Regions from separate parts of the Homo sapiens genome. Here region 2 is linked to region 1. Evidence: promoter capture Hi-C in 16 types of primary human blood cells and fetal thymus (Javierre and others, 2016). All regions are on one chromosome and are shown on one strand. The core of a region is centred on a gene start or on the middle of the fragment in contact, and the rest is flanking DNA. Distances in the headings are between cores, read along the strand shown. Region 1 holds the start of ZNF18 (zinc finger protein 18). Region 2 holds the start of ARHGAP44 (Rho GTPase activating protein 44).

The links. Contacts are between HindIII fragments. The CHiCAGO score rates a contact against its expected background, and 5 or more counts as called.
Region 2: the fragment with the promoter of ARHGAP44 here is called in contact with the fragment with the promoter of ZNF18 in region 1 in 2 of 17 cell types (M2 macrophages and erythroblasts); the score reaches 6.9 in M2 macrophages.

The regions. Positions count from the first base shown.
Region 1 is chr17:11,995,674-11,999,056 of GRCh38, reverse strand. ZNF18 (zinc finger protein 18) reads left to right here and starts at 1,582. Exons shown (of 7, transcript NM_001303281.2): 1 at 1,582-1,626. RefSeq lists enhancers at 1,014-1,093, 1,164-1,403, 518-1,501 and a silencer at 1,434-1,883. The HindIII fragment of the contact is 4,230 bases long and covers 387-3,383 here.
Region 2 is chr17:12,787,930-12,791,312 of GRCh38, reverse strand. ARHGAP44 (Rho GTPase activating protein 44) reads right to left here and starts at 1,815. Exons shown (of 21, transcript NM_014859.6): 1 at 1,422-1,815. The coding sequence starts at 1,474. ARHGAP44-AS1 (ARHGAP44 and MYOCD antisense RNA 1) reads left to right here and starts at 1,029. Exons shown (of 2, transcript NR_104607.1): 1 at 1,029-1,170. RefSeq lists a silencer at 1,539-1,888. The HindIII fragment of the contact is 2,845 bases long and covers 1-2,201 here.

The DNA of each region.
Region 1 (3,383 bases), core at 333-2,832:
ATGTGCCTGGTAAATTGTTAGCCATGCTGTCCTCAGGAACTCAAAGCAGCGCCATCAATCACATGAATGTTAGAAACGTCCAGCTAGGTGCCATGGCTCATGCCTGTAATCCCAGCACTTTGGGAGGCCAAGGTGGGTGGATCACTTGAGGTCACGAGTTCGAGACCAGCCTGGCCAACATGGTGAAACCCCGTCTCCACCAAAAATACAAAAAAAAAAAAAAAAAAAAAAAAAGACTAGAAACTTCCACCTATGTCAGGCTGAAACAGTAGTTTCACACATAGGATCTTGTTCAGACCCTGGGACTTAAGAGAACATGTCGAATCCCTTTTCCGCTGGTCACTTTTCAGGTACATGAAGATGTAATCCCATCCCCGCATCAAGCTTTATTTCTCCAGAGGAGGATCTTTAATTCTTGTAAACATGGGACAGGTACAGGACATGTTATGATAATGACAGGTACAGGACATGTTATGATAATGACAGGTACAGGACATGTTATGATAATGACAGGTACAGGACATGTTATGATAATGACAGGTACAGGACATGTTATGATAATGACAGGTACAGGACATGTTATGATAATGACAGCTCTTCTTTAAATTTTTATTTTTTATTTATTTTATTTCCATAGGTTATTGGGGAACATGGCAGCTTTTTTTGAATACCCTCCTCTTTGCCAGTTGCCCAAGGTGGAACACCCAAACTTTGACATGATACTTCCATTAATGCAACTTAGTATCACAAGTTGATGTCGTGGCCCAGCACAGGATGGCCTGGAAACCGGCAACACTGGACGCTGGGGAAAGGGTAAGAAGGTCTTGACCATTACAAATGGTGTGGAACTGAGCCGAGGGAGGGATAGTGAGAAGGGAGAGAGGGTGAGGTGTCTGAGAGACAATGAGGTCAAATCAGAGGATTCAGCCATTGTTGGCGTGTGGGAAAGGGAAGGAGAAGGGAAGAGTCAGGGATGACATTTGTTGAGAGAGAGAGAGAGAAGAGAGAGAGACGCAGGTGGAAAGAGGATGGCACCACATTGGACTAGCCCCAACGGAATGGGGAGAAGTGGGAGAGGACCCAGGGGATGCAGAGCTGATGAGAGTGGGAGAACCAAGACAGAGGAAGAAGGTTGGGGCAAATCAAGTGTCTCAGGGAGGCCCAGTGAGGCAAGAACGGAAAGGAGAAAGGCGGCGGTTAAGAATCAGGGATAATGGCAGAGCGTTGCAGCTCTGCGGGTGGGACTGGGCGGAAGGGTTTGGGAGAGACAAAGAAATGATCTTTGAAGGCCTCGCAGTGCTTGGCCGAGTGCCTGGCACAGAATAGGTGCGCAATAAATGACGGGTGAGAAGTGAAGGAACTCAGGAACAGTGATTAGTGAGTGAGTGACGGAAGGAACGGAGGATGGCGTTGGCTCGGGAACCTCGCTGCCATGTCGGTGGAGGCTCCTGGGCTGCAACGCCAGAGAGAGGCGGGGCGTCCCCGACGGCCAATAGGAGCTTCGGTATCAGCTCCGCCCCCGCCCCCTAGCTCCGCCCGGTGCCGCACGTCGTTCGCCTGCCGCCTGAGGCGCGCGCAGCCACCCAGCTCCCGGAAGTGCGCCCGGAGCCGGCGCCGCGGGCCGAGGTGAGCGCGCTTGCGGGGCGGTCCCGGCCTCCGGCCGCTCGGGGTCAGGCCTTGCGCTATCTGCGTCCGCACCTGACTCAGCTGGGCACCCCGGAGCTACGGAGGGGCCAGCGGGCTCCCTTGCCCATGCGTCTGGGAGCGCGCGGGGGACGTGGCGAGTGCGGGGCCGGGGCAGCCATGGCTGGGAGTGGACCGTGGGTGCGGGGGGATGTGTGAACCCCGTCCCGGCTCTGCATTCCTGCGCCTCTGCGCCCCGCGGGACCGGCCGGGTCTCTGCACTGGGACCGAAAACGGGCTCCTCCCCGCTGTCTTCCCCTAAGGGCTGAAAATGAGTCTCTGGAAGAGGAAACCCGATGGGATGATGCCTGGAGTCTCTCCCTCTCTCATCAGAGTGCAGTCGGCATTTGGGGGGCGCATGGTGGAGAATACATATCCAATGAGCAGCGCTGCCCTGGCCTCGAGCACTAAATGCCAGTTCCCCTAGCTGCTTGTGACAACCAGAAAACGCCCCAACAAATCACCAGACGTTGGCAGTTCTCCCCAAAGCAAAGGCTTTAGAGCTTCCTGGGTTAATCTGGCTGCCACTTGTGAGCCTCGGAGGTTCCTGATCTGTACACCAGGGTAATTGTGGGAATTGGAAATACATGAACCGAGCTTAATAATGAGCCGATACGTAGTAGGTGCTTAACAAATGGTTACTTATATATGTAACCATGTATGTAACCACTTGTGTATATTACACCTAGAATGCACTTTTAAAAATTCATTCTATTTGTTAAAGGTTTAATAACAGGTATAACAGACAACCTTATTTTTTTTTCATAACTAATGGGGGCAGTTCCTCATGAGGTTATCGGAATATAAACTCTATTAAATTTTTAATACTATATAAAGTAATTTAATTTTGAATAATCGAGACATTTTTCTTACACACTACCTGGGAGTATAATATTACTAACAAAAGATTTAAGTATTTTATAAAATCTGTAGTTTTTCCAAAATGTCATTTCTCTTAAATATTATCTAAACTGCTATCTTAATTTAGGAAACAGATAAATTGCAGTAAGTTTACAGGTCGGTATCTTGCTATCTAAAATCTTGCCGCTTGTTATTTGAAACTCTTGAGCCAAATAGGTTGGATTTACAAAGCAAGGTATTTTTAAAAATATATTTATTCGTTTTTTAAGATGTTATTTGAAACTGTAGGTTTACCTCTGAGCTAAAGCTGCTTTTCAGGTGGTTTGATAATGCTGTCATTGTCACTCAGTATGAAAACATATTTTAATTTCCTTTGTGATTTTTTTCTTTGACTATGGGTTAAGAGCATTATTTAGTAATTTCCATAAATTGGGATTTTCTAGTTATTGTTATTGATTTCTACTTTAATTGCACTATGATCAGAGAATATATTTGAACCCAGGAAGCTCTAAAGTTTTCCATTTGACCTTTCTGGTTTTGTTTCTCTTGTGTTCCTTTTCTATCAGATATTGGGTTTTTGAGTGTTTTTTGGTATTGCTTTAATGGCTTTTTAGCAATACCACTTTGCGTAATATTTTTAGAGCTAATTTTAAGATATCAGTCATTTGAAAATTATGCATATGGTCTGTTTTGATGAATACTCTTTGCACTTGTAATGAATGTATACTCTGCAGTTCTTGGGTCTAGTGTTCTGAAAATGTCAATTAGAGCAAGTCGGTTGATAGTGTTCAGATTTTTTGACTTCACTGACTCTTTTTTTTTTTTTTTTTGAGATGGAG
Region 2 (3,383 bases), core at 566-3,065, 790 kb before region 1:
ACGTGAGGCTATATCTGTGGCAATACCATGCCAGAAATCTGGGCTAATCTGACTCTGCTATTCATAAATTCCCCCTCATGTTAAAGCACATGTGTTTGGGAAGGAAAAATGAATCCAAGTCAATTTTAGACATTGTTACTTGGAAACCATCTGGAGTCCCTGGAAGCATAAGAAGCCACCGCATCCCCTGCCCTCAAATGCCCACTGTAACTAGGGCAGTATGCTCAGACGGGAGTTCAGATGTCCCCTATTCCCCAGGGATGTCCCCACCCCCATCCTACCAGATGCCAGTTCAGGCTCCACTTCCCACCCAAGAAAGGTATTCGGTTTCTCCGTAAACCTAGTGGAGAGCCCTCGAGGTGTTGAGCTTGCATTTGAACTGCACCCAAGGCTGGATTCTTTGCTTTCTGATTGCTTTAGAACAGCACACCTGAATTCCTTTGCCACAGCAGCAACGGAAATCCCTCCCCAGGAGTAGGGGTTCCAGGAAAAATCCCTTCTACCTAACGCTCCTGTGTTCAAAGAATGTCTAGTCTTGGGAGCGACCCACCAGGATTTTTATGTAACCTTAATAGATGTTGGCACCCTGCAGAGCCGCTCCTGGAGTCCAGATGTAGCCCATTTTCACCGTGATGGCAGCAGGCGGGGTCTTGCAGCTTCCCGGGGCCTGACTCTTCTGACTGTGGGGCCTCTGTCCCCCTCCCCTACCTGGCTGCGATTCTCTGCTTATCTCATCTTCCCGAGGACTTGGGCCTCCTTTTTGCAGCCTCCCTCCCTCCACTGAAATCAGTCCTAACATCAAGCAGGCAGCAACGCCATTCCACCAGCACCTTCCTTCCTCTCCCACCCCTCACCCTTTCCCCCCACCAAACGCCTTAAGAAACCCGGCCAGGAAAGTGATCCAGAATCTCGTACAGTCATAGTCCCTGAAAACAAACACGGCGGGAGGGGCAGGCCGACCAGGCCCAGCACTTTCCCTGGACCCGGGAGCAGCCCTGAACTCGGCGCAGGGGAGGGGAGGGAAGAGATCTCCGGAGACCGACTGCGGTTCGGCTGCCTCCAGCACAATCAGAGCAAACACCTGTTTCCAGGAAGACAGGCGGCCAGAGGGAGAAGGGAGTCCCGGGGAAAGGCAGGGAGGACGAAGCGAAGGGGCAGCCGGGGACGCAGGTAAAGGATGCGTCACACTTTGCGCTTGGCAACCGGAGCCCGGAGCAGAAGGCGGCGAGTGAGAAGAGCTCCGGGGTCTGGGAAGTTAGGGAGGAGGGGTCGCGCCTGCGAGCGGCGCCTGGAGGGAGCTGGTGCAGGGGAAAGGACTGAGGCAAGGAGGACTGGAGGCTGGGCGGGCTCCATCACCTGCGCGCCCCTGCGGATGCAGCCTCGCGGGCGCGCACCGACAGCGGTGCCCGCGGGTGACCTACCTGCCCACCGTCTGGTTGGCCAGCTGGCGCATGCGATTGAACTGCTTCTTCATCGTGGCCCCGCTGCCGCGCTAGCCCGGGAGCTGGGGAAGGACGGAGCAGCCCGGAGCCCGCCGCAGGGTTACATGGCTCCCGCGCGGAGCCTCCCGGGCGACGGCGGCGGCACTGCGGAGCCTCCGGGCGCCGTCTGGCCCGCGCGCAGCTCCCTCCCGAGGGCGCCGCCGCCTACTCCTCCCGCCGCGCCGCCTCCTGCCGCATCCCCCTCACGCGCGCCGCGCAATGCCCGGGGCAGAGCAATGCCTGGGGCCGTCCTCGGCACCGGCCCGCTCCGCCCGGGCTGCCTGCTCCCAGTCCCAGTCCGGCGCGGGGACCCGGGAGTCTCCGCAGGCTGGCTGGCCGGCTGGCCCGGCGGTCCCCGTGCGCCTGTGCGGAGAACGCCGTGCATGCCGGGACTTGTAGTTTCGCGCCCCGTGCCCACCTTTCCTCTGTCCAAAGTTTGCAAGGACAGTGGAGTGCGGAGGTGGGAGAAGGCAGCGTCACCAGCAGCTTTGCACTTTAGCGTTCGAGTAAGGGAAACGTTTTCCTGTTTTAAAAATGGCAAAGTGGGACCAAGAATACAACAGCAAATAAAGAAAGTGAGCATCTGTCTCTCATTGTATTTTTAGTGAATGTGAGGTATCAGTGTTCTGAATTCACAGAAGGGAGATTTATGCTAGCAGATACGTGGCTGATAAAACGGTCTAAGGTCACCTGATTAATGATGAGGTTCAAGGTTAAGCTTGAAACACAGGGGCTGACAGCAGATTTTGAACAGGCATAGCTTGCATCCCAGAAGTCTGATTCTTAATTTTTACCAAACCAAACCCATTAGGTAACCAGAAGCCAATATAGATAAGTGACGTTGTGCTTACTGGCCCAACCTGTCTGAGACAGCTTTTTTGTATGGCTTAGATGCCAATCTCGTATCTAGTCCCATTTCCCTTCCACCACCAGGAGACCAAGGGGCATCAGCTGCAGCACCCCCCAAGTGTCCTGCACCACAGCATCCCATTGGCGTCAGTTGACTCCTTGGAAGGGGTTGTGGCTTCTTTGGTCTCTATCCTTAGAAAAAGATAGGTGAGCCGGGCGCGGTGGCTCACGCTTGTAATCCCAACAGTTTGGGAGGCCAAGGAGGGTGGATCACGAGGTCAGGAGTTCGACACCAGCCTGGCCAACACAGTGAAACCCTGTCTCTGCTAAAAATACAAAAATTAGCTGGGCGTGGTGGCGGGCACCTGTAATCCCAGCTACTTGGGAGGCTGAGGCAGGAGAATAGCTTGAACCTGGGAGGTGGAGGTTGCAGTGAGTGGAGATCGCGCCATTGCACGCCAGCCTGGGTGACAGAGCTAGACTCCATCTCAAAAAACAAAAAAAAAAGAAAAGAAAAAAAAGAAAAAGATTGGTGATTGCAGTTAGGTTTTATCATTATATATCAAGGTTTTATCATTATATATCAAGTAAAAGCAGTATTGTTGGGTGTGAGGCACTTTGGATTAAACAGATAGGAGTTCCTGCATCAGAATTCCACATACCTGTTATATAACCTTAGGAAAACAGCTTAACCTCTCCAAACCTCTGTTTCCTCATCCCTAAATAGAAAAATATGCTGCCTGATCTTCAGTAAGAGAACTATTTGTTAAATTACAATAATCAAATTACATATAAATTTTCATATAGTACATTGCCGTATTCATTTACTACAAAATGATTATATTTAGCATAATAGAGAAAAATCCTGTTCATACAACAGAATTACTAATCTTATAAAGGAAGGATCTTCTTTGAAATAGGATATTTTGCATATGTTGATTATAGTTGCAAGATGTCCTAAATATGGCTCTAAGTATCTTGCTGGCTAGCTGAACAAAAAGTGGTTTGAGGCATGTCTTGGCTGAATGAACATGAAATCTTTAATTAATTGTG